Regions from separate parts of the Homo sapiens genome. Here all the other regions are linked to region 2. The links are contacts of gene promoters, found by promoter capture Hi-C in blood cells and fetal thymus (Javierre and others, 2016). All regions are on one chromosome and are shown on one strand. The core of a region is centred on a gene start or on the middle of the fragment in contact, and the rest is flanking DNA. Distances in the headings are between cores, read along the strand shown. Region 1 overlaps FRMPD1 (FERM and PDZ domain containing 1). Region 2 holds the start of IGFBPL1 (insulin like growth factor binding protein like 1). Region 3 overlaps FRMPD1 (FERM and PDZ domain containing 1). Region 4 overlaps SLC25A51 (solute carrier family 25 member 51). Region 5 overlaps FRMPD1 (FERM and PDZ domain containing 1). Region 6 has its middle 35 kb from the start of SLC25A51. Region 7 overlaps FRMPD1 (FERM and PDZ domain containing 1).

Region 1 (3,925 bases), core at 1,286-3,785, 700 kb before region 2:
GCCACCACGCCCGGCTAATTTTTGCATTTTTAGTAGAGACAAGGTTTCACCATGTGTAGGCTTTATACCCAAACTCTTTATAGAGATGAGTGCAGGGGGGCAATTCTAGCTCAAATCTTGGGAACTCTAAAATTTCTCTGTGCTTCTGGAGGACACCAGCCCCACGGGCCCTTTGTATTTGCAACCAAACACTCAGAATCACTTCTTTTTTTTTTCTTTTTTTCTTTTATTATTATTATACTTTAAGTTTTAGGGTACATGTGCACAATGTGCAGGTTAGTTACATATGTATACATGTGCCATGCTGGTGTGCTGCACCTATTAACTCGTCATTTAGCATTAGGTATATTCTTACGAGAGCTGGGAGATTCTCCAAAACCCTCTCCTGCTCCATCCCAGGAGTTCTAGCTGGCATGGGGCCACCCAACACAGACCAGTCCTGTGCCTTTTCCCCAAATAGCCCTACGAGAGTGGCAGAGTCCCTTAGGGGACCTCATGCATCTAGGGTGATAATTGGGGTGAATGTAGTGGAGAGCATCCCTCTGCCCTTTGGTGATATTTCATTACAGGGAATGCAGCAATAAAATGAGGGTAGGAGAGGCTTCCCTACCCTCTCCATCCCACCCCAATCCTACAAGGTAGAGTCTAAGAATCTCTGAAAGGCCCATGTTGAACAGTGTGCATGCTGGTCATCTGGCTTGCCAAATTGCCTCCCATAAGGGTACAGCCAGCAGTAAAACGTGAGCTGATGGTCATGAGACATTGCACAGGCTCGCGCAGTGCTATCAGTACGCTCGTAGAAGGGCTCACTCTTCTCCACCGTTTGTCGTATCTAACAGTCCTCATGGGTATCCCTTGACAAAGCATGCCTGTGCATTGAAGAAATTCCCAAGTGCCAAGAAAGAACCCCTGACATGGTGAGGAGGTTAGGGAGGATCCTACTCTCCAAACCAGGCAGGTCCAGACAGCCAAGGATTTGTCATACCCAGGGGCAGGAAAGCTGTGACTGGGATACAACAGGCCAGGCATGGTGGCTCACGCCTATAATCCTAGTATTTTGGGAGGCCAAGTCAGGCGGATCACTTGAGGCCAGGGGTTCGAGACCAGCTGGCCAACATGGTGAAACCCTGTCTCTACTAAAAATACAAAAATTAGGCTGGGCACAGTGGCTTAGGCCTGTAATCCCAGCACTTTGGGAGGCTGAGGCGGGTGGATCACCTGAGGTCAGGAGTTCAAGACCAGCCTGGCCAACATGGTGAAACCCCATCTCTACTAAAAAAAAAATACAAAAATTAGCTGGGCATGGTGGTGTGTGCCTGTAGTCTCAGCTACTCGGGAGGCTGAGACAGGAGAATTTGCTTGAACCCAGGAGGTGGAAGTTGCAGTGAGCCAAGATTGCACCACTGCACTCCAGCCTGGGTGACAGAGTGAGACTCTGTCAAAAAAAATAAAAAAAATAAAAAAAAATAAAAGCCAGTCGTGGTGGCAGGTGCCTGTAATCCCAGCTATTTGGCAGGCTGAGGTGGGAGAGTCGCTTGAACCTGGGAGTCAGAGGTTGAGTGAGCCGAGATCGTACCACTGTTCTCCAGCCTGGGTGACAGAGAGAGACCCTGTCTCCAGAAGGAATAAAAAAAGACAGGGATACAACAATACTCTTGTGTTTTCCAGGGTAATTCTCTGCTGTGTATGCCCAACGTGCTCAAGCTATACTTGGAGAATGGACAGACCAAAGCTTTCAAGTTTGAGGCAAACACAACCGTGAAGGTATTAAGAATAAACTTGAACTTCTTTTCCCAAGAAGAATGTTCTGGCTGCTAGGACCCCCCAGGCATCTTGCCCTGCATCTGCCTTGGTGGTCTCACAAACACCGTGGTCTGAGCCCCTGTAATAATAAGCCAGGTGCCATGTTATCTCATTTCGTTGCACGACCACCCAGAAAGATGGTCTTTTTACCACCATCGTAACTGGGTGGGGGTTAAGGGGTGGGAATCGGGACTTAGAGAGATGAAGTGACTTGCCCAAAGGTCAGATTAGAACTCCTAAGCCTTCACCCATAACCACCAGGCTTCCCTGCCATTTGTCTGTGACTCTACCTGCTACGCCAAACACTACGAAAACCCAGGTGAGATGTCAGGAAAGGCCCAGGCGCTGCCTATTCTGTTCTTGGTTAAAGTCAATTGAACTTATACTTCACAAGTTTCCCCATATGAGATGATCTGAGAGGGGTTACTGAGCTTAGTCAGGGGTGGTCTCGATCTTCAGGAGCTTGCAGTCTAGTTGAGGGACGGTGGACGTTCAGGGAATGCTTGATTGTCCAAGGCAGGATGAAATAAGGGCCAAGTGCAAGGGGAAGAGTACCATCTCTTCCAGCCTGTCCAGACTTCAGACAAGGCATGGGAAAGAAGCTGGACCTGCGCTGAGCTTTGGAGGATAACTAAGATTTCAACAAGGGCCAGTAGGGACAGGGCAGTTGAGGGTAGGGTACATATCAATCAGAGAGTCACGTGAACTAATGCAGAGAGCCAGAAAAATGGCAATTGCCCAGGAAATAGCAAACCATCCAGCAGGACTGGGGCACAGGCTGTTTTCTTGTGGAAGGAGTGGCTGTGGAGGGCCTCAAATGCCAGGCAACAATAGAGCTTGAGTTTTATCCATAGATAATATCGTATGGTGCTAGCAGTTCTTGAACAAGGGAGTAAATAGTGTTAGAGTGAGGCCGCAGTGAAGAAGCAAAGTTGTTCAAACAGTAAAAACCATGTAAGAGGAAACATTGAGCCCAGCTCTTCTGGTACAAGGGGAGAGCAGGTTCAGGAGGGCCAATGCAGCTATAGGGGACAAACAGTAGCCAAGACACACATGCACACACACATCTGCACAGTACATTCACACACATGCATATGCATGCACACATATGTACAATGTACATACACCTGTACGCACACATCCAGTGCTTCTCTCTGGCACCTTCATTTGGCAATTCCTACAGCTGCTCCAAATGCTCTATTCTATTTCTTCCTAAATGTGAGTTAGAAGAAGCTGGAGAAGGGCTTTCTGAACCTGGGGAACTCCAAGCCCAGAGGAGGAAGCAATGGAGGAATAGACTTTAAGTGTTTACTACATGCCAGGCACGCTTCCTGGGCACTTTCTTGTATACGATCTCATTTAATGCCCTAGCAACCTTGTGAAGTAACTAGTGTTATCCCCACTTTGCAGAAGAGAAAACAGGCCCAAGAGGCCCAAAAGCTGTCAAGATCAGCTAGCTCATAACTGGCTTTGAACTTGGTCTGTTTTTGAATCCTGTGCTGGAATCTTGTCACTCTGCCATTCTGCAGAAAAGGGAAGCTTTGCAAATGGATTAGACAAGAGTTCTACTTTCATCATCTTTGCTCAAAGTGGATTGGAATAGAAGGGTTGATTTTTTTTAAAGCAAGTCCCCCTTTGGTGGCCAAAAGGACTTTGAGGTAGTTTACAATAAAGGCCCACATTACAGGGGAATTAAACTTAAGATGACAGAGAGAGTTGGGGAAATGAACAAGGACTTAGCCAGTATAATACTGGTTAATCTTATTTATCTGTAATAGCCAAATTTTTTAAAGCAAAGTCTTTAGCTGTTTACGACACAGAGAAAGGTGGACATAAATAAATCTTATGAGTGAAAAAAGGAAAAATTACTGTCCACTCATCAGTGACTTCTCTTCCCCTTTCCCTCACTAAGGGAAGAAAAGTTCTTGTATTAGAAAACCCTCTTTCTCTAAACCAAGAAAAAGAATATGTCATTTGACCCAGTAAACATTTATTGACACTTTTTGTGTGCCAGGCATTTCTATATCACCAACAACTTGGCAATAAATTACCCAGGGGCCGGGTGCAGTGGCTCATGCCTGTAATCCCAGCAGTTTAGGAGGCCGAAGTGGGTGGATCAACT
Region 2 (3,397 bases), core at 175-2,674:
TTCTCACTCACCCTAAACTCAGCACTGCCCACTCCAGGCAAAGTACACAGCGGCACTTCAAAACCTAGTGGGTGGAATACACTCATGCTTAGGAAGCCGGTAAAGCAGTGCTAACGTTTTGGTTTCTTTTTGTTTGGTTTTCAAAAGGTACATAAAGAGGGTGGGCAACTATAGCACTCAGAGATTATTTTACTGTGATGTTAATGAAGCTTAAGTTTCTAAGTCCCTAGCATTTCATAATAAGTTTCTAAGTCCCTAGCAGTTCTATTCCTTTACTTAAGGCAGGACTCTCCAAATTATATATGTTTTAGAAGCACGAAACCTGAGTCTGCCCCTAATAGCACCACAATCTTTTCAGACCTTACGTCTCCAAAGGTCTTACTTCTCCTGGATGGAGCTCCCTCAGCATCCCAGCTCAGCCCCTTCCCACACCGGGGGCCCTGGTGCTCTGGTGCTGTGGCCTGGTGACTACTGATTCCCCAGTCTGGAACTCATCCTCCTCCTGCATCCTCAACTTCCCTTCCTCCCCTATCCTCTACTTCCCTTCCTCCCCCAACCTCAACTTCCCTTCCTCCCCATTCAAACAATCCACCTAGCGCTGGATACCTGGGAACTCGGATCCCCCTCCTTAACTCCCAGTCTCCTGCTGGGCAAACATACCATGCCTACAAATAAGTGACTGCATCAGCAGGTACTTAAGTACCAAAAGGGGTAGCAGGCTCACCAAAAATTCGACTAGCACAGTGAGTGGCGTCTCCAAGGATTCTCGCCCCAGTCTCTCTGAGCACGAGGAGAGATATGAAATACTGCTCCCTAAGGGGAAACTGAGTGCCAGGCAGCGCCGTCCACCACTGGGCAGGGGGATCCTTCGCTCCACACCCCAGAGGGTTGGAATCCCTCCTTCTCTACCCACCCAATCCCCGACCCTGACTCACCGAACTCGCAAGGGCCGTCGCGCGCCTTGTGCAGGTGACCGGGGTGCGCGCGGGGCGTGTGCCGAGCGCGCAGGCGCAGCGCGCAGACGCTGGGGTACGAGCGACCGTCGGAGCCGCAGACGGTGCCGCGCTGCGCGCACACGCAGAGCCCGGTGCCCTCGGGCGCTGCCCCAGCGGCCTGGCTCGCGCATACCAGGCCGGGGCCACAGCGCCCGCCGGCGCGGCCCCCGCAGCTCGCGCCCTCGGCTCCCAGGCAGCGGGCGCAGCAGCCGCACTCGTCGAGCGCCGAGATCCCGGGCGCCGGGCAGGGCGCAGGCGCCGGGCAGCCCTCTGGCCGGCACGGACCACACTTGGGGCGCCGGCCGCCCACGTCGCGGATCCCAAGGCTCGGGGACAGCGGCGGCAGCAGCGGCAGCAGCAGCAGAAGCAGCAGCGGCAAGAGCAGAGACAAGCGCGGCATGGCTTGCTCCGGGACAGCGGCGGCGCCTCTGCTTCGCGCTCCGCTCCGCGCCCGCCGAGCAGTCACCGCTCCCGCCCCGCGGCCGCTGATTGGCCGGGCCTGCACCGCGGGGCGCCCGCAGACCGCTGCTCCAGCCCGGGACCCGCGCGGTGCCCGCGGCCCGGGTCTCCGAGCTGGAGGGTCGCCCCGAGAGCAGCTCTCCGACCTCCGATTGGACTCTTGAGGGAACCGAGACCCAGTCGGGGCGACAACTTGCCCGAGGTCGCTATGGCAGAGTCAGGATTGGATAACCGTACGGTCTCCGGATCCAAGGCTGGCTCCAGATAGTATGCCCGTAAATCCTCCCAGAAGGATGCGCTATTTTATTTAATTTTATTTTGCATTCAGTAGTTTTCAAAGTTTTATTTTATAAAGAGAATATATGGTTTAAAATGTAGATTTTACATATACATCTAAGGATGAAAAGAGGGTTACCCTACCACCTTGTATCCCCATCCTCCAACTCGGCTTCCAGAGGCCACTCTTGCTATCGGGTTTTTGTATATCTTTTCAGAAATTTTCTCTATGCCTATAAAAGTACATGTGCCTAAAAAAGCCCCTTCCTTTAAAACACACACACTCTGTTTCTCTCTCACACACACAGAGTAGCGTGCCATACACATTAGTCTGCACTTGGTTTTTGCACTTACAGTGTTTCACAGTTTCCCCACCTCTTGTCATCTGTGAAACTGGGTTTCTTATACAATCAATGGGAGCATAGTTCATTGGCTCTGTGAGTGTGTTTCTTAATGCTGCATAAAGTCATGGTACATCTCCGTCCACAGTGACTTTGTTGTGATGAGATATGGTGATATATTTTGGAGTTCATACAGAGTGGCCTTTCCACAGGGTTTAGTTGCAGTTATTTAACCACTTATTTTCCATCCTTTGGTTAATACGAATAATGCTTTGATGAAGTCTTGGTGCACAAGGGTCAGTGTACCTGTGGCTTACTGGGGAATGCATGTTGGAAAGATGCAGTTTCTTGTAGTCAGTTATTCATGCCGCCGTTGCGCCTTCTCTGGGCCAGGCTCTGTGCACACCATCCTGCCTGAGTTCTGGCAGGGCACCCAGACGAGAAACCTAAGAGAGTCTTGGCTGCTGGGATTTGATGTGTTGCTGGGTAAATGCACTGGATGGAGGGAGGGACTCGCTGAGCAGGTTTTATAGGAGACTTTTCCTGCCTTTACTGGCCACCCCTCATGTGTCTTGTGCTCTATTGTTTTTTCTTTGCTGAACTCCTGGAGATGGAGAAAGCCTCTTGCAGCCTGGGAAGACCAGCTACACCGTTCTTGGGTGGGGTTCATTTTGCTTTTCAAGCCCAGTTCCTTCCCAGTTTGCAGTCTTCTTATCCCCAGAAAGGAGCCTCTTCTGAGGCCACTTTATGTGGTGGTCAGAGGAGGGCCATCTGCCTGGTCCACGCCAGGCCTTACCTTACAATCAGCCACACAGAGCAGGGGCGGTTAGGCACCATGAAGGGGTGGTGGTAAGGAATAAATATAACAATGTTGGTAATGCACTCAGCGCAGCTCTCAGAACCTATCAACAGTGACTTTCAACCTGGAGGCTGCTGTCTTTACCAGGAGTGGCCTTTTAAAGTGCTCTCACCGCTTGACCCCTCTGTGCTCTTCCAGGAATCTCTCCTAAAAAAATGATCACTATGTGTGAAGATTTCATCCTGGAGTTGGTTACTATAGCAAAAAATAAATAAATAAATAAAATAAAAATAAAAAAAGTTAACGACCTAAATGCCCACCGAGAGGCAATCGTTAAATAAATTATGGTACATCTAACAATAGAGGATTATGCAGGCATTAACAATTAGAAAGAAAATATGGGTTAATAGAAATGAAAACATGTTTATAATACATTGTTTAGTAAAATAGCGGTTAAAAAGTGCACATCTAATGTAATGGCATATTTGTAAATATGTGAATGTGTAAACATGCAAAAATTTAAGATT
Region 3 (3,875 bases), core at 1,308-3,807, 730 kb before region 2:
TTATTACTGAGAAGTTTAGTGCCATTTTTAATTTCATTTGTTTGTATGTAATCTTTTTTTTTCCTCTCTGGAAGTTTAGAAGATATTTTCTGTTTCTAGTTTCTGAAATTTTACAATGTTGTTACTTGATGTGGGTCTTTTTTCATTCACTAGGGTGGGCAATTAGTATATATTCTTAATTTGAAAATTTAAGTTCTTCAAGAAATTTTTATTGAATTATTTGGCAGTTTCCTTACCTCCATTTCCTTTATTTTCTACTTCTGGAACTTCTGTTAGATGAATATTACACTTCCTGGACAGGTACTGTACACTTATTGTCTTTTATGTTTTCTCTGTCTTTGGCTTTGGTTACTCTTCCTACAGTCTTTCATTGACTTTATTTTTCTGTTTTTATTAATAATTGAATTTTTTATTCTAGCTGCCTTATTTTTAATTTCCAAATGTTCGTTCTTATTCTCTGATAGTTTATTTTTAAAAAATCCTCTTCTTGTTTCATGAATATAATACTTTATCTTTTTGAAGATTTAAGTTATAGATTGAAATTTTTTTTCTTCTGTTTTCTACATTGTCTCTGTTTCTTCTGAATTTTTCTGTTTGTTTTGGTCTGTTTTTTATAATGCATGCTTTCCTTAGATATTTATTGATAAGTAAGAGTAAAGCAGTAAAACAAATAATTGGAAACTTTGTATGATGGGTCTGGCTCATTGATTAATACATTTCAATGCAAGATGATCTGGCAGCAAGTTACCTTTTCCCTGCAGGGATCCCGAAAATGTCAATATCTGAAGGTCTTTTCTCTGGTGCTATTCAGTCCTCCAGAGAAGGATTCTCTAATCTTTTGCTTGGGACATGTCTTAGTCTGTTTTGTGTTGCTATATAATATCACAGACTGGGTAATTTATGAAGAAAAGAAATTTATTTCTCACAATTCTGGAGGCTGGAAAGTCTAATATTGAGGTGCTGGTATCTGGTAAGGGCCTTCTTGCTGTATCATCCCATGGAAGAAGGTGGAAGGGCAAAAGAGCACACAAGAGAGTGTGGAAAGAGGCCAAAGTTATCCTTTTATCAGGAACTCACACCCACAGTAATGGCATTAATTCATTCATGAGGACACAGCCTGCATGACCTAATCACCTCTTATAAGTTTCACCTCTCAACTCTGTTGCAATGGAAATTAAGTTTTCAACACATGAACTTCAGGAACACATTCAAACCATAGCAGGATATAAAGTACTCGCTGACAGTATTCAGAGAACTGGGCACAGGAAGAGGTCTTGTCATTCAGTTAGAAGAGTTTTACTTACTTCTTCTATTTTAATTCCTGTACCGTCTATTGTGCCTAGTCTCCCCAAGCTTCTCTTGTTCGTTTTCTCCAGAAAATAAGCCTCTTATCTTCAGTAGGATGGGAAAGAGATAGTTGTCTAGGTAGGTATTTCCATATTTTCAACCTTATGCTCATCCTTGCTTTCTCCTGTACTTACTGCCCCTAATTCCTGAGCCACTGGGCAAATCAGCACCCCTAGATTGGATCATGGTACAGAAAAAGCACATTAGTGAAAAACTGGTAAAATTTGAACATAGTCTATAGTTCAGTTAATAATATCGTACCAATGTTAATTTCTTAATTTTTACAAAGGTAAAATAATTATGTAAGATGTTAATATTAGGGAAAGCTGAATGAAGGGATATGGGAACCCTATATTATCTTTGCAAACTTTTTATACATCTAAAAGTGTTCCAAGATAATTTTTTTAAAAGAATAAGACAGTCTGGGTGTGGTGGCTCATGCCTATAATCCCAGCACTTTGGGAGGCCAAGGCGGGCAGATCACTTGAGGTCAGGCGTTCAAGACCAGCCTGGCCAACATGGTGAAACCCCATCTCTACTAAAAATACAAAAATTAGCCAGGTGCAGAGGCATGTGCCTGTAGTCCCAGCTACTCGGGAGGCTGAGGAGGCAGGAGAATAACTTGAACCCGGGAGGTGGAGGTTGCTGTGAGCCAAGATCGTGCCACTGCACTCCAGCCTGGGTGACAGAGCGAGACTCCATCTCAAAAAAGAAAAGAAAAGAAAAGAAAAGAAACTCTGGAAGGACAAATGGAAAACAAGAGCAGTGATTATGTATGGGCATGGGAACTGGGTGGGTAGGAGCAAGGAAGGATATAAGACAGACTTTTCACTGTCTACATATTTTTTATTATGATAAGAACACTTGAGATCTACCCTCTTAAATTTTTAAGCACACAATACAGTAACTATCTTTTTTATAAGCTAGTGTTGAATTATGTAAGTGAAATACTTATTCAAAAATTAAGTATAAAAGATTGAACAAAAGCAGCAGCGCTCAGAGGAATCTGCACAATGTGATGAAGAATGCTTCCATGTCCATGGGGTTCCTGATGCAGGCAAAACTGAACCGCATTGTCCAGGGTTGCACACATAGTTGGGAGAGGGAAGGACGGTGTCACATGGTAAGGTGTATCTCTTCCTATGGGTCACAGTCACAAAGTTTGAGAAACGTTATCTATTTTACTCTCTCATCCTTATGTTTAACTGTTTAAGATACAAACCCAGTCTGTTTGCTGCAAGATTGAGGGTTGCTAAAGTTGTTCACTCTGTGAACATTGAGCACCTGTTTATGTTGATTTTAGACTAAGGGAGAACACTAGTTATTCGATTAGCATGTCTTATAATGGGCAAATAAAGGAAGCATCGTCCTGATTTATCAAAATCCTCTTTAGAGTATTTTGGTTAGCATCTTAAGAACACTCTTCTTCCTTTTAGGTAAATGGAAGAGCTGGAGACCAGTTTATTCCAGACACGGAAAGCACATAGAATAGAACAAATGGTGGCAAGATGGCTTCGGCGCTCCCGGGACAGCTCGGCCCGGTAAGCCTCCTGAGTTTGCAGATTTCTGTCTATAAAGGTCTGGTGTCCCGGGGGAGGAGCTTGTGCTGGTCCTGGCCGCACCTTGGGATTGCTGTCTCCGGCTTGCTTTGTTCTTACACCATATGGTGGGAGCAGTGTAAACAGGTCAGCAATTTTGCTGGAGTGCTTTTCCCTGTACCCTACCCCCAACATGTACCTACACACACACAGAGACACCCCAACTCACACACACTTACAACATTTACAAACACACTGACACACAGACATACACACAGAAATACACTCATACATACTCATACGCACATGCATATACACTCTCTGGAGCACACACTCATACATACACTCTTTTGATCTCTCTCTGACACACACACAGACACACACACACATAGAGACACACACCTCTTGTCTTAGTACTTGACATGAAGGTCAGGTAATCTGCCGTTTATATTCTTTCTGTGTCTTCTGTGTCTTTCTGTGTCTTCGTTTCCAGCAGCTGTTCCTTCCTTGCAGTCCCTATGTCATTCTAAACAAAATAAAATGAAATCAAATACAGATCTGATTTGACTGCTACAGGAGAACTTTCAAATATGTTCTGTTTCGAAGCGTTCATTTTTGCTTGGATTTCCCATCTGGCCCTGCCACAGAGATGAAATATCACGTGTCAGGTGTTTCTGAGACACACATTCTTCCAAAGGAACTGGAAACAGCTGTTCTGCTGCTGAGTAATAAACTTTGCTCAGGGCTCCACTGCCCTGTGGCCAAGTTCTCTGATCCTCACACACCGAGGTCAGATAAAATGGGGCTCCCTTTTACAGATGAAACACCTAAGGCTCATAGAGTGACTTGTTTAGGACCACTCTTACCCAATGCTCAGAAAGCTTGGATGGGTCCCCATTTATTATAGGAGGAAGCTTAAACATTTTTGGTCTGACGTTTCAAGCTGCAATCCTTTCCAGCTATTTGTCTTACTACTCTGCTTCCTTCACA
Region 4 (3,894 bases), core at 1,355-3,854, 520 kb before region 2:
TTTTTTTTGTAGAGACAGGGTCTCACTATGTTGTCAACGGTGGTCTCAAACTCCTGGGCTCAAGTGTTCCTCCCACCCTGGCCTCCCAAAGTGTTGGGATGACAGGCATGAGCCACTGCTCCCAGCCTATTTTTATTTTTAAAGACAGGATCTTGGCCAGGTGTGGTGGCTCACGCCTGTAATCCCATCACTTTGGGAGGCCAAGGCAGGCGAATCATGAATGAGGTCAGGAAATCGAGACCATCCTGGCTAACACGGTGAAACCCCATCTCTACGAAAAATCCAAAATTTAGCCAGGCATCGTGGCACGCACCTGTAGTCCCAGCTACCTGGGAGGCTGAGGCAGGAGAATTGCTTGAACCCGGGAGGCAGAGGTTGCAGTAAACCAAGATCACAGCACTGCACTCCAGCCTGGGCGACACAGCAAGACTCTATCCAGAAAAAAAAAAAAAAATGACAGGGTCTTGTTCTGTCACCCAGACTGGAGTACGGTGGTACGATCATGGCTCACTGCAGCCTGGACCCCTGGGGCCTCAGTCTCCTGAGTAGCTAGGACCACAGGCGCATGCCACCATGCTTGGCTAACTTTTAAAAAACATTTTTTTAGCAGAGAGGGGGCCTTGCTATGTTGCCCAGGCTGGTCTTGAACTCCTGCCTTGGCCTCCCAAAGTGCTGGGATTTACAAGCCACTGCACCCATCCAACACTTGCTGTTTTAAAAAATTACTTCTAACCTGTGTACTTATGTTCCCTTTTTTCTTGAGCAGGGTTATCAGTTTATCTAATTTATAACCTTACCACTCCTAGCAAAGCAGCAGCTTGTGAATTACCAATCTTACTATTTCTCAGTTTTGTTTTGTTTTTTTGAGACAGAGTTTTGCTCTGTCACCTGGGCTGAATGCAGTGGCTACCTCGCAGTTCACTGCACTTACTGCAGCCTTGACCTCCTGGGCTCAAGCAATCCTTCCACCTCAGCCATCTGAGTACCTGGGACCACAGGCCCGCACCACCAAGCCCAGCTAATTTTTGTATGTTTTGTAGAGACAGGGTTTCTCTACGTTGCCCAGGCTGGTCTCAAACTCCTTGGGCTCACATCATCTGCCAGCCTTGGCCTCCCAAAGGGGACTACAGGCATCAGCCACCATGCTCACCTAGTTTAAAAAAAAAATTTTTTTTTTGAGACAGAGTCTCACTCTGTTGCCCAGGCTGGAGTGCAGTGGCGCAATCTTGGCTCACCGCAACCTCCACCTCCTGGGTTCAAGCGATTCTCCTGCCTCAGCCTCCCAAGTAGCTGGGATTACAGGCATGCCACAATACCCGGCTAATTTCTGTATTTTTAGTGGAGACGGGGTTTCACTATGTTAGCCAGGCTGGTCTCAAACTCCTGAGCTCAAGTGATCCAGCCTGCCTTGGCCTCCCAAAGTGCTGGGATTACAGGTGTGAGCCACTGTGCCTGGCTTATTTTCTTGTAATTCTTAAGTGAGACAACTATTTTTATCCTTTATTTCATAACTTGACTGTTTAAGGCTGTGTACTTTTCTTTGAGCAAAACTCTTATTACTATTTAAGAGAGTTGGCATTTTGTCTTAACTATGCTTGCTAGTAAGTGTCCCAAAATCTTCAGTGAGTCTAGTGTTGTTATTCACAGTAAAAATAAGATTAAAGGGAAAAAAAAGGTTCCAGAATATCATCTGTTCCCTCTCTCCTCTCCCTTTCTTAATGTACAGAGTTTTGGGGCTTAATATGATTAACTTCAAGATATGTTCTAGACACTGAAGTCTGTTAGGGTATTGAGTTTGATAATTATTAGTTCTACTACATCCTTACTTTTTACTGATTCAGCTGATAGGTATGAGTTAAAAACTCTTATTAGTACACTTACAAGCTAAGATTAATCAATATTTGAAGTCCTAAAACTTAGTCTAGAAATGCTTGATACCTATGTAATGCTTTGCACTTCTTCAGTTTCAGAATTAAACAATGTTAAATCAACAAGAATATTTAGATTAATGTACATGATTACATGATATTGTGACAATTTATGAATGTCAAAACCATTTTATTTTTACATACGGAGCACACAAAATATTTTAAATTCTAAAGTCACCACCTACAAGCTGTTTACACATGCTCCTTGACAGTACAAGCCAAGTTATTTGTGTACTTGAACAACAATAAAAATTTTGTCCATGTTCACTTTTACTGGAATGTTACTTGTATTACTTTCTGAAATTTTGCAAATAAAGGTTAGTTTATTTATGACTCTGTGTGAGAATGGGGACTGTTATTAAACAAGCAGAAAACTACAGCTAACAGAAGTTAACCATTTATTGACCACCATATCCAACTATTTTAAGAACATTACTGTACATTGAGATTCTCAGATTTAAAAAATAGGCCTAGATGGGGGAAAAAATGTTATGAAACCCTCCTGGACTTTACAGATTTAAAGCTTTTTCTCTAGTTTAATCCTACACACCAGGATGGTGTGAATATGTTCTTAATTTAGCAATAGAAGGATAATGTGCACAGCATTATTTGGTAGTACAGTTTAGACTTTTGCATGTTTACCTATACTGTGAACATGGTTAAATTTCTTTGCTAAACTGATCTTTATATTTTTATTCATTAATGTGGATAATTCTTTGCAATTTATTGCAAAATTTATTTACCATAACTTTACGCTTGTTTGCTACGTAAAACTATCTCATCATAAGGGAGCAGTTAATGAACTTGATTTTCAAGCAACTACAAGTGTCAAGCTTCTGTGACTAAGAAAACAGTGTAAAGTCTAAAACCTTATTATAATTTACAGCCTACATGGATCAGCATGATACAGATATGATCCTAGCACAAAGGTCTCTGCAAAAACTGGGGAGAGGGTGACTCCAATTCTCAAAGGATGTGAATTTCCACTAGTCAGCAGGTCTGAGTCAGCATTCAGAACAAGATCAGCCTGGGTCTAGTCCTAGTTACGACACTAGCTTGCCAATATAAAGACAAAGCAATATCTGATTTTAAAATCCACTGATCTGAGTTTGCTTTCATTTACCAAACGAGAGATCAGATGAGTCAACTCCTAGCTTGTTTTCCCCTGAGATGCGCTAAGGGTGATTCCAGTTCCAAAGCGGTAACCTGTGCTCTAAACCACTATGGGACCTCAAGAGTCCTAGCACCTTTTGATCCTATGGAATCCTTTCAAAGCACGGGCAGAGGCGGCTCAAAATGGCAAGGTCACTATACATTTCAAGGGCTTCTGTTTCAGAGATTACAAGTAGAGAAAAACAGAAGGTGGGAATTAAGATCAGCTAGGTAGAGCTGTGAGATGCAAAACAAAGGTTTTGCAGGAAGTTGAGGTGCTGACATACTCCATCTAGCTAAACTGAACACCAAATAATGGATGGAGACTAACACCACCAACACCATCGTCCCCGAAAATCCTTGTACAAGTGAGCTTCCTACAACGCGATGCAATATGCTGTCGCAGAACAAGCACTGCCAGGCTATGTAGCTGAACTTACCGTTCTCCAGGCGTCCATTTCCCCAACCTGTGAAAGGCGGGGAGGGGGTTGGACAAGATCACTAAGTCCTCTTCCGTTTCTGACACTTCACAGTCAGGGGTCCCGAGGTGAGGCCGAAATCCCAGTCTCCCGGGACGCAGAGGCCCTTGCGCGGTGCCATCCCCGCTGTCCCCCGGGCGCAGGCAGCTCCCGGCTCCTCCCCGCCCCTGCGGTTCCTGTGCACCAGGGAGGTGCCTCCCCAGCCCAGGGCGCGCCCGAATGAAGGGACAGCGCCTTCGCGGGAAAGGTCGCCCAGCAGCCGGACAAACACCCGCGGCAGGCGGGGGAGCCCGGAGCCGAGGAGGCTCAGAACTGATTCCGCCCGCGCCGCCTGG
Region 5 (3,636 bases), core at 448-2,947, 720 kb before region 2:
ATGCGTCCCTGATTCCCTATTCCCTGCCCTACAAAGGTGAAACTGCTCTCCCCCTTCTCTGTGTGTCCATAGCACTTCCTGGGCGCTTTCTAGATATTTAGCATTAGCTCATTAAGAATGCCTGGCAATACGACTTCTCTTTTAGAGGACAGTCCTAAGTTCTGCTAGTGGAGTTGGTGTCTTATTTGTCTCAAGAGGAGAATTGGTGTCTGCTCAGTTCTGCATCTTTCTCCATGATGCTTAGGGCTGACCCAGTTCGTGACCAACAACTAGAGTCTTCTCTTTCTCTTTTTTACATACTCCTTCTCTTCCAGGGCTAAAGTTGCTGCAGCTGATGGGCCCGCCAGGAACCCAACTCAGACCCTCATCCCTGTGCGACACACAGTAAAGATAGACAAAGACACCCTCCTCCAGGACTATGGATTTCACATTTCTGAGAGCCTTCCCCTTACAGTGGTGGCTGTCACAGCAGGTAGGGGATGACTGGGAAATGAGAAAGGAGTTTGGTTTCTTAAGGGGAAATAGCCCCAAATCTCCCCGATCTCTCTATCCTATAACAAAATGCAGAAAATCCTACCTGGGAAGTTAGAAAAGGCACACCTAATTCTGTCTTGGGCTTTGCACCTTACTTTGATGCTGGGAGGGAGGAAGCCTCAAGTGCACTTGCCGCTCCAAACCCCAGGCTCCCACTGGCCTTGGCTAGGGCGTTGCCCACCCTTGGCTCCCTGGCTGGTCTCAGGGGCAGTGAAAGTATTTGGCTAAGCTAGCCTTCCTCTTTGAACCCCACACGCTCCTAGCTGGGGATACTTTCTGGTCAGACAGTAATAGAAACCATTGATTTGTTTTCATTTGAACCTTGTGAAATACAGGCTGTACCAGGGTGGAGAGGAGCAGGTGGGGAAAGTCCAGTGCTTGTTTTCATAATTGAGGTGTGTTAATCTGGGATTCGTTAAAATGTATTGATTTCTATTTACTACACATACACACCAGAGTTTTTTAGAGATGAATGGAGTAGATTTACTGGCCAACTCTATTGATTTAGAAGGTTTCTGCTAGTTTTCTTTCTCAGGACAGTCTTCTAACATCCCTGGAAGTTGGTGATAGATGATAGGTACATTATCCATGGTTTATAAACAGGAAAATTAAGATCCACATGAGCCCAAGCCTGACTGAAGGCGGGGGAGTGAGCCAGTGCCCCTGGGAACTGGATCAGGGTGCCATTTAACTGTGCCGCTATTACACATAGAGTCTGGGTCCTCCCGGCATGAGCACCAATTACTTATTTTCTGTCCAACAGGAGGCTCTGCTCACGGCAAGCTTTTCCCTGGTGATCAGATCCTCCAAATGAACAATGAGCCTGCTGAAGACCTTTCCTGGGAACGAGCAGTCGATATTCTCAGGTACTAAATGGTCTTCCATCATCTACAGAATTGCACAGATTATCAAAGAACAAAGATGGGCAACAGGAATGGCATAACTGATCCCCTGATTTTAATAAGGCTAAGTCTCCTTTAAAGCAGCAAAAACAGCCTCGTTTTAGAGTTCCATCTATTAAAACGGCTTCTTGTTAGTGGCTGTTACAGTCCACTCTCTCTCACTTGCCTACAAAAGAGCTTGGGAGGCACAGAGTGCTGTATTTGTCAAAGCCCTGCTATGCCCAAGACACCGTGCTAAGCATGCAGGGAATGTAATGATCATAAATAACCCACAGGCCCTACCCTCTAAGGATTTATAGGCACGTTGTAACATATGCCAAAGATTGAACTAAATTGATGCCAAATCTGTTCTTCTTTATCCCTCTTGATATATCTTCTTAAATATAATTGCAGGTGCATCTTGGTTGGCATATATGTAGTTTCATTGATGTAGCACCTCCAAACCTTCTGTCTGGTGTCATTGTGACTTATGAAAATGCCTCGCTTTTTACCTAGACAATGATTTCCTGAGACCAGGGCTCAGTGGGTGCTCAGTTAAATGAGTGAATATGGTTAGCGCTGGGAATTGGCAACCCAGACTTTAAGACGGAGGAGTGCCATTGATAGGAGTGAAGAGGACAAGCAGACATTTTAAGGGCACATGAAGCTTTGGCTTTTAAATTTTTCACTCAACATTGTTCTAATGACTAGTATAAAGACAGACGAGAATCAGAGGTAGATGAAAGCTAACTTGAAGAGATATATATATATATATAAAATTCAGTTTGTGATTTTTCATGAATGGCTGATCTGGCTTTGGGGTGGTATTAATTGTTTTTTTTTCCCTTTTTTTTTGAGATGGGGACTTGCTGTGTTGCCTAGGCTGGTCTCAAACTCTTGGGCTCAAGTGGTCTTCCCATCCCAGCTACTCGGGTGGCTGAGGCAGGAGAATCGCTTGAACCCGGGAGGCAGAGGTTGCAATGGGCCACGATTGTACCACTGCACTCCAGCCTGGGTGACAGAACAAGACTCCATCTCAAAAAAAGAGAGAAAGAAAAAGAAAAGAAAAGCCAAGGAAATACACTGTAAATGCTGGAGAGTCCTCCAACTTGGGCAGAAGTTGTAGGCTGACAAAACAGAGAAGGGCCCAGAAATATTTCAGTTGTGTCTTTAATGCTGGGTAAAATTTGGTCCAAAAGATGGAGGTGAAGGGTGATTCAGGCAAAGAGGTAAACAGAAGCAACTGGGTGGGAAGTAGGGGCTGCTGAGCAGTTCAGTTTGCCTGCAGAAAAGTTCTAGGAAGTGAAGTCCAGATGATAGAAGGTCTTGAATGCCAGCACAGCATGTTTCAGTGTGATTCTCCCCCTGGAAGGGCGAGCAGTTGAAGGCTTCTGAGCAGGGATGCATGACTTGAGGTGTGCTGTGCATCTGTACCCTCTGCTGTCTTTTGCATGTGAGAATCCCAGGACGCCTTACTTTTTTTAAGCTTAGTTCCCAGTGTCTAAAACCAGCATGTATTATTCAGTGTCACGTGTAAAAGGTAAAACACAAAGCAAAACAAAAAGATACAACAACAATGCCAAGAAAACATCTCAAATTCCTCCAAATAGCTATGAGGCCAGTATGTCCTTTTAGAGCACTTGCATTTGGGTTTATTGTGATTTATCTCAGAAAAGGCCTGTTCTCATTTAAAATGGAAAAGAGGAAGTCCCTAGACACTTAGACATCTTGGGTTGAGTTTATCCTTTTGAGGAAATAACACACCAGCAGCAATTGGCCTAAATGTTCATATTGCAAGAAGTCAAATGAAATTATTTTGCCAACTGCTTCTCCATGGTAGCAGTGGCAAAGAGAAAGGAAAATATGATCGATTTTCTCTGTTCTGGCCGCTAATATAAAGTAGAGGTCAAGCAGTTATCTGCTTGATTTGATCACTTTTGAAATCTAAGAGATAATGCAAGACAAAGATGTCTACTATCTTGATTATATGATTGGGCTCATTACACCGACTTTGTGTGCCCAAACACCATAAACTCTTTGGCTTTTATCTGATAAACGTTATCCACAGACATTCATTCTGTTTAGTGAAATGTTTAGCCTGAGTTTTATGAAATAGCAACCTGAGTTATCTGTGTTATTGCCATATTTTCTCCTAAAAAATTTTTTTGGGTTGGGCACGGTGGCTCACACCTGTAATCCCAGCACTTTGGGAGGCCGAGGT
Region 6 (3,611 bases), core at 856-3,355, 550 kb before region 2:
TTCACCATATATGGCCTGAAGCTCTCATGAAGCCAGCAGAATGCAGTGTGCAGATTATTCCGTAATAGAGGAATCCATCATTTATTATTATAATTAACAGACTATATTCATCAGGGTAAGATCTGTTCTGACCATAAGCAAGCAAACATTTCTCATTGACTTGGAAAACTGCAAGTTAAGACTCAGTTTTTCATTCAACGAACATTTGAATCCCTATTATATGCCTAGTTTAGTACTGGGAACTCAAGGGACAAAGATAACTATCGTCTTGGTATTCCATAGCTGTAGTTGAAAGAGATTTAGATTCAGGGCTGGCTTAAAGAGGTTGTACATGTGCAGTTACATAGTGTCCCATACTTAGAAAGATTCCATGTAGGCTGGGTGCAGTAGCTCACACCTGTAATCCCAGCACTTTGGGAAGCCGAGGCAGGAGGATCGCTTGAGCCCGGGAGTTTGAGACCAGCCTGGGGAACATAATGAGACCCCATTTCTACAAAAAATGAAAACACAATTAGCCAGGCATGGCGGCATACACCTATAGTCCCAGCTACTCGGGAAACTGAGGTGGGAGGATCACCTGAGCCCAAGAAGTTGAGACTGCAGTAAGCTGAGAGCACACCACTGCACTCCAGCCTGGGCAACAGAGTGAGATTGCCTCAAAAAAATAAAAAAAATAAAAAAAAAGTTGAAAGGCCTCATGCTTACTTTAATGCTTTGCTATAGCCATCTTGAAATTCTCAACTTTTTGAACAAGGGCACTGCATTTTTATTTTGTACTGGGCTTGCAAATTATGTAGCTGGTCCTACTTAGATGTAATCATTTTGACATGATGGGTACAAAGTAATAAAAGAGTTACAGTATCTTTCACTTACCTTCTAATAAAGATATTCACATTCATTGAGAATTAGCTATAAAATGTATAATTTAGTAAAATAACTTCTGAAATTAAAACCACCTCCTTCCCACAAATTTTTGGACAGATCAAATGTTCTTCATTTCAGAATTACAAAAGCTTTCTAAAACTATAATTGGCTTTTTACCTTTTTAATTGTTTTGAGTCTTTCAAATGGATGAATGTAGAGTTGTAGATGAGTTTATTTTATCTATATACACACCTACATAAACATATAAGGTTTTAATTTAAAAAAACCTTTATATTATAAATGCATTGAATATGTGATATAAGTCTACCTCATAACATGATTTTTTAAAAATAAATGCTACTTTGAAACATTTGACACACTTTTTGTGTGTGGTTAACCTGTTTAAAAGGTTGATGGCAAACTTGATTTAGTAATTGCTGGAGATTTTTTGTTTAAACTACCTATATGTGCATTTTTAGACCAAAATCAAGCACAAGGCTATGACAATGGCAGTGGCTTGGTAATTCTTGTTAGTGACATTCTGGACTTTTTCAATCATGCACTCTCCATCAGAAAAAATTTAAGATCCAAATTTTGATTATCTATAAATGATGGGTATACTATTGTACTGATCTGTTAAGTACATTATAAAACATACACAGAGGAAAATCGAAAGTTTAAAAGGATACGATTTTTAAAAATTAAAGTTCTAAATTTCTTCCTGTACCTCCAGGGATAAACTGGGTCTCAGCTGGTATATGGACATTTCATCTTAGGAAGGCCACTATCTAAAATGTAGAATTGGCATTTTACACTAAAAACACATTTACTAAGATTGCATTCTTTCACATATGTTCACTAATGTTCTAGCCATTTGCAAGTTTATTTGGTATGAATATGTTTGTAGAGTTTCTAAAATTAGTTCTTTATTCAGTGAAAATTGTATTATCAACAGGAAGCATCATTCATAGATTTTTACCCTTTTTGTCAAGCTGTTTACAGTGACTGAATCTTATATAAGAACTCAGAACATGATATTTTTCAGTGTTCTCTAGAATTTCATTTTCTTGTTGTATTATTTAACAGTGTGATTGATGGTTCATTTTACCAGATTATTTTCATTCACCAGAGTATGATAATCATATTTGGGACACTCTTTTTGGTAAATCATTGGAGATTAAAAAAAGAGTGAATCCCTTTGAATTCAAATTATTTTGTGAAATTAATCATTCAGACAAACTGATTTAACTAACCATAGCACTAATTATCACTATTTCGTTATCTCTATGACTGACATATTTTGGGCTATTTAAAAATATATTTTTAATTGAAAGGGAAATAATTATTTGCCATGCGTTAATAATAAGGAATCAACAATGTATATTTGTTTTCTATTGCAGCTGTAACAAATTACCATAAACTCAGTTATTTAAAACAACAAAAATTTATGTTCCAGTTCTGGAGGTCAGAAATGGATCTCACTGGGCTAAAATCAAGGTGTTGGTGGGGCTGTGTTTCCTCTGGGAGCCTAAGGGGACAATTCATTTCCTTGCCTTTTCCAGCATCTAGAGGCCACCTGCATTCCTTGGTTCATTGCCCCTTCTTCCTTCAAAACCAGCAGAAAAGCATATTCTTTTTTTTTTAAAAAGTACTTAATTTTTTTATTTTTGAAGAGGCAGGGTCTCACTATGTTGCCCAGGCTGGGCACAAACTCTCCTGGGCTCAAGTGATCCTCCTGCCTCAGCCTCCCAAAGTGCTGGGATTACAAGTGTACGCCACCGTGCTTACATTGACTTTCGTGATTACATTGGGCCAACTGCATAATGCAGGATAATCTCTCCATTTTAAGGCCAGCTGATTAGCAAACTTAATTCCATTTACAACCTTAATTAGCCCTTGCCCTGTAACATTACATACAAGTTCTGGGTATTAAGGATGTGGACATCTTTAGGGGCTACTGTTCTGTTTGCTTACTGTGTGCTAGTGTTGGGTACTAGCCTTAGCGCTTCACAGGCACTATTTAATCCTTAAGGCATTCTTATGAAGTGGGTACAGTTATTCCCATTTTACAGAGGAAGAAACTGAGGCTTAGATTCGTTTACCTAAAGTCATATACCTAGTGAGTTTCAGAGTTAGACTTCTACCTGGTTCTGTCTGACTTCATAGCCTAACTTCAGTTGCTATACAGCTTTGATAATTCAGTGAGAAAATGTTTACTGCTTACAAACTATGTAGAACATTGTGAATACAGGTGTCATACTGTAAGAGAAATGTATTGCAGCTTTATTCTGTAATCAGGTAAAATTATTCTGATATCATTGTGAAAAAGTTGAAAAGCTTCCGCTTATGTGTATAGGGCCAGTAACATTTTCAGAGTTGTCTTGTAACACATAAGTGCTTTTATTCCCTAGACCTTTATCTACTAGGGCTTAGCTGTTTTAGTTTATAGCTGTCATATACTACTTTTAAAACAAATAATGCTGGACGCAGTGGCTCATGCCTGTAATCCTAGCACTTTAGGAGGCCAAGGCGGGCAGACTGCTTGGGCCCAGGAGTTTGAGAACAGCCTGGGCAACGTGGTAAAACCCCATCTCTACAAAAAATACAAAAAAAGCTGGGCATGGTGGCACGAGCCTGTAGTTCCAGCTATTGGGGAAGGTGGGGGGAGGGGCAGGCAGTGAGGTGGGCGGGTCACCTGAGCCCAGGAGGTCGAGGCAGCCTTGATCATGCCACCAGCCTGGGTGACA
Region 7 (3,507 bases), core at 239-2,738, 680 kb before region 2:
AGGAGTGCCCGGCAGAGCGAAGTGGCTATGTCATCACTGATCCTGAGGCTGCATTAAAGGAGGCCTTGAAGCAAGAAGAACCAGACAGACAGGCCGTCTGTGGCCCTGCAAGGCCTTCTGGGGTCCAAGGGACCCTGACATCAGAAGGTAGGGGATCTGGTGGCTGTGTTTCTATCAGGTTCCTCATACATTCCTCCACCGAGAGTGTGGAGGGTCTTTCCAAGCAGAACTGAGATCCTGGCAGGACACACACACACACACACACACACACACACACACACACACACTGCATTCTGAAGGAAACATATTGGAAAAGAGCACATGGATGTTGAAGGTGACCTGCCAGGAGCTGGGAGAGCTGCAGCCCTTGTTCCTGTCTCGGCACTTTCCTGCTGCTCTCTGATCCTCTATTCCCAGACCTCCTGTGCTCTCCCACTGTTCTGGAGAGAAAGGCCAGCTCCTCTGGGAGCCCCATCAGGCCCTTTGAGGCCCTCTGTGACATGGCCTCTGCCTGTCTCTCTCCCTCCTCCTGCATTCCTGCCATACAGACCTCCTTGCCACTTTCTACAAGTGCCTGTTTTTTCCCCCTCCTCCAGCCTTTGCACATGCTGCTCTTTCTGACCGAAACACTCCTCCCCAGATCGTGGCTGATGGTGCCCATCCGTCTATCAGATTCCGGTTGGAATTCACTTCCTCAGAGAACATTTCCCAGGCTTCCCAGGCCAGGGCAAGTCTCCCCATCTCTGTCACATGTTCTTGCATTACCTGGGGCTCTCCCTGTCTGGCACCTCGCACAGCCTGTAAATTACATATTTACTTGTATGATTCTGTGTTGATGTTTCTCTCCATCACTAGACCGAGAACTCCTTTGAGCGTTAGAACTGTGTGTTTCTCACTGTGTCCCCAGCACACAGCGTCTAGCAATTGTTGTTAAATGAATGAATGAAGTCTCCACCATCTACACTGAGTTCAATTGACTGTACCTCTAAGGAAAGGAGAAACCATGGCCAGACTCCTTACTGCTCCCCAAAGTACCCAGACAACCACTTTCCATGCCCCAGCCTTGCCCTGCAGGGCCAGCCATTGTGCCGGGGGGCAGGATGGAAGTGTGGCAGAAACCATCAGTCAGGGCCCTTTTATGGGAGTCTAGTCAGGAACATATGGGGTTCATACCAGACACTGTTTTGTTTTTGTTTTTGTTTTTTATAGGGAGCCAGTGTAGTGCTGAGAAAAGAGCCAGAACTAGGATTCCTCAGCCTGGGTTCTGATTTGGCCCCTGACTGACTATTGGAGCCTCTTTGTCTTTGGGACTTAGAAACTCCTTGGTCGGTGGCTGTCAGTAGCCTAGGGCAGTCAAATGTGACTGGGCATCAGAATCACCTGAGGGACCTTGTTTAAAAACTATAGATTTGGCCGGGCGCAGTGGTTCACACTTGTAATCCCAGCACTTTGGGAGGCAGAAGCAGGCAGATCACCTGAGGTTGGGAGTTTGAGACTAGCCTGGCCAACATGGCAAAACCCCATCTTTACTAAAAGTACAAAAATTAGCCAGGCATGGTGGCGTGCACCTGTAATCCCAGCTACCCAGGAGGCTGAGGTAGGAGAATCACTGGAACCTGGGAGGCAGAGGCTGCAGTGAGCCGAGATTGCACCACTGAACTCTAGCCTGGCCAACAGAGCAAGATTCTGTCTCAAAAAACAAAAAACAAAAAAACCTAAACCTTATAGATCCCTAGGCCCTAGCCTCAGAGATTCTGACTCCTCAGAGATTGTGGGGAGCAGCCTAGGACTTGATAAGGTTTCTAATAGCATACAGCCAGGTTAGAAATGACTGGTCTGACTACCCAAGCTCTCTGATTCTCAAGTGCTAGGCTCTGATCCTAATTCCTTCTGGCTGATTCCCAAGGGTTCTTTACAATAGTGCCTCTCCTCCCAGAAAGATCCATCCTGGGATGCACAAAACTCGATGCCTGTGACAGAGTTGTGGCCCCTTTACATTCAGACATGAAATGGCAATAACGAGCAGCTTCCTTTTAGTGAATACCTAATGAGGCAGAGGCCTTGTGCTGGGTGCTTTATAAAAATGCACTAATTCCTTTAACCTGCACGGCAGCACTGAATGGCACCATTGGCACTAAAAGACTTGGGTTAACATCAGCACAAAGAAAAAGTGTTAGGAAGTAAGATTGTTTATAGAATTGCTGGCAAGCCTGAAGACCTGGGTTCAGAAATAGACAGCAACCAGGCTAAGAGTCTAGTCACAGGATTCCCTACCTGTATTATCAAGCTATTGTGGTTGGAAAGAATGGCTCTGCTTTTTTTTTTTTTTTTTTTTTTTTTTTTTTTTTTTTTTTAATGTCTTTGGGTTTGGAATTCTGGAGAATTTGTAGCTGATTGGCTGGCGTGGACAGAGCATCTTCGTGAACAGTTCCAGCAGACTCTAACCATTGGGGAGATGTCATTCCCTAAACAGAAGTTGAGATGCTGTGACCAAAAGATAATTAAATGGATCTTAGGCATCCAAAAATTTAATAATGTCTATCACAGCTGGGTGCAGTGGCTCAATCCTATAATCCAAGCACCTTGGGAGGCTGAGGTGGGAGGATTGCTTGAACTCAGGAGTTCAAGGCTGCTGTGAGCCGTCACACCACTGCACTATAGCCTGGGGGACAGAGTGAGACCCTGTCTCAAAAAAAAAGAAAAAAAAAAGTCGGCCAGGCGCGGTGGCTCATGCCTGTAATCCCAGGCCTAGGTAGGCGGATCATTTGAGGTCAGGAGTTCGAGACCACCCTGACCAATATGGTGAAACCCCATCTCTACTAAAAATACAAAAATTAGCTGGGCATGGTGGCAGATGCCTGTAATCTCAGCTACTCCGGGGGGATGAGGCAGGAGAATTGCTTGAACCTGGGAGGCAGAGGTTGCAGTGAGCCGAGATCACGCCACTGCACTCCAGCCTGGGTGACAGAAAGAGACTCCGTCTCAAAAAAATAAAAAAAAATCTGTCACAATTATTATCCCCATCTTTCAGATGAGGAAGTTGAGGAGATCAGGATTGAACTTGCTCAAGGTTACACAGCCTAGCCAGAATTTAAACCCAGGAAAGCCCAAGGCCTGAGCCCAAGCTCTATTAACCTCTTTTTTTTGTGCTTTTTAATGTATTTTTTCTTTCCTGACTCCCAGGGCCCAGAGATGTTTCTACTGCAGAACCCAGTGCCACAAGCTTGCAGAATAAGGCCAGCACTTCTAGCCCTGAGAACAGCCTGCCTTGTGGGCCAGATGGAAGACAGCCAAGCAGGAGGGGAGGGGTGAAGAAATATGCCAAGACCCTGAGGAAAAGAAGGTCTTTCCTACAGACCGACTACACCTCTCAGGTCTCATTTCCCCTGGTGCCATCAGCCTCCCTGGAGAGTGTAGACGACGTGTGCTACTATGACAGGGAGCCCTACCTGGCCCTTGGTGCACCCTCCCCAACTGTGTCCTCTCTGCAGGACATGCAGGGTGAGC

The links. The method cuts DNA at HindIII sites, captures the fragments that hold promoters and counts their contacts. A CHiCAGO score of 5 or more calls a contact.
Region 1: a contact is called between a fragment that was not itself captured here and the fragment with the promoter of IGFBPL1 in region 2, in 4 of 17 cell types (endothelial precursors, M0 macrophages, M1 macrophages and 1 more). The highest score is 10.9, in endothelial precursors.
Region 3: a fragment that was not itself captured here is called in contact with the fragment with the promoter of IGFBPL1 in region 2 in 2 of 17 cell types (M0 macrophages and M1 macrophages); the score reaches 5.9 in M0 macrophages.
Region 4: a contact is called between a fragment that was not itself captured here and the fragment with the promoter of IGFBPL1 in region 2, in 5 of 17 cell types (megakaryocytes, total B cells, total CD8 T cells and 2 more). The highest score is 6.2, in megakaryocytes.
Region 5: a fragment that was not itself captured here is called in contact with the fragment with the promoter of IGFBPL1 in region 2 in 3 of 17 cell types (endothelial precursors, M0 macrophages and M1 macrophages); the score reaches 7.9 in endothelial precursors.
Region 6: a fragment that was not itself captured here is called in contact with the fragment with the promoter of IGFBPL1 in region 2 in 1 of 17 cell types (naive CD8 T cells); the score reaches 5.1 in naive CD8 T cells.
Region 7: a fragment that was not itself captured here is called in contact with the fragment with the promoter of IGFBPL1 in region 2 in 3 of 17 cell types (M0 macrophages, endothelial precursors and M2 macrophages); the score reaches 7.7 in M0 macrophages.

The regions. Positions count from the first base shown.
Region 1 is chr9:37,722,557-37,726,481 of GRCh38, forward strand. It overlaps FRMPD1 (FERM and PDZ domain containing 1), which reads left to right. Exons shown (of 16, transcript NM_014907.3): 7 at 1,669-1,764. Among named protein-coding and RNA genes, the nearest start is that of TRMT10B, 29 kb to the right of the region's middle. The HindIII fragment of the contact is 1,610 bases long and covers 1,731-3,340 here.
Region 2 is chr9:38,423,030-38,426,426 of GRCh38, forward strand. IGFBPL1 (insulin like growth factor binding protein like 1) reads right to left here and starts at 1,425. Exons shown (of 5, transcript NM_001007563.3): 1 at 936-1,425. The coding sequence starts at 1,395. LOC105376041 (a long non-coding RNA gene) reads left to right here and starts at 1,582. Exons shown (of 8, transcript XR_007061487.1): 1 at 1,582-1,721. RefSeq lists an enhancer at 2,470-3,397. The HindIII fragment of the contact is 4,043 bases long and covers 208-3,397 here.
Region 3 is chr9:37,689,855-37,693,729 of GRCh38, forward strand. It overlaps FRMPD1 (FERM and PDZ domain containing 1), which reads left to right. Exons shown (of 16, transcript NM_014907.3): 2 at 2,784-2,888. The coding sequence starts at 2,788. Among named protein-coding and RNA genes, the nearest start is that of FRMPD1, 41 kb to the left of the region's middle. The HindIII fragment of the contact is 2,413 bases long and covers 1,352-3,764 here.
Region 4 is chr9:37,900,011-37,903,904 of GRCh38, forward strand. The region is part of intron 1 of SLC25A51 (solute carrier family 25 member 51); the gene reads right to left. It also overlaps the pseudogene PAICSP1. Among named protein-coding and RNA genes, the nearest start is that of SLC25A51, 2.2 kb to the right of the region's middle. RefSeq lists a silencer at 3,558-3,894. The HindIII fragment of the contact is 310 bases long and covers 2,450-2,759 here.
Region 5 is chr9:37,707,102-37,710,737 of GRCh38, forward strand. FRMPD1 (FERM and PDZ domain containing 1) reads left to right here. Exons shown (of 16, transcript NM_014907.3): 3 at 315-472; 4 at 1,298-1,400. Among named protein-coding and RNA genes, the nearest start is that of TRMT10B, 45 kb to the right of the region's middle. The HindIII fragment of the contact is 765 bases long and covers 1,316-2,080 here.
Region 6 is chr9:37,867,676-37,871,286 of GRCh38, forward strand. No RefSeq gene overlaps it. Among named protein-coding and RNA genes, the nearest start is that of SLC25A51, 35 kb to the right of the region's middle. The HindIII fragment of the contact is 2,188 bases long and covers 1,012-3,199 here.
Region 7 is chr9:37,741,206-37,744,712 of GRCh38, forward strand. FRMPD1 (FERM and PDZ domain containing 1) reads left to right here. Exons shown (of 16, transcript NM_014907.3): 16 at 3,184-3,507. Among named protein-coding and RNA genes, the nearest start is that of TRMT10B, 11 kb to the right of the region's middle. The HindIII fragment of the contact is 3,466 bases long and covers 1-3,221 here.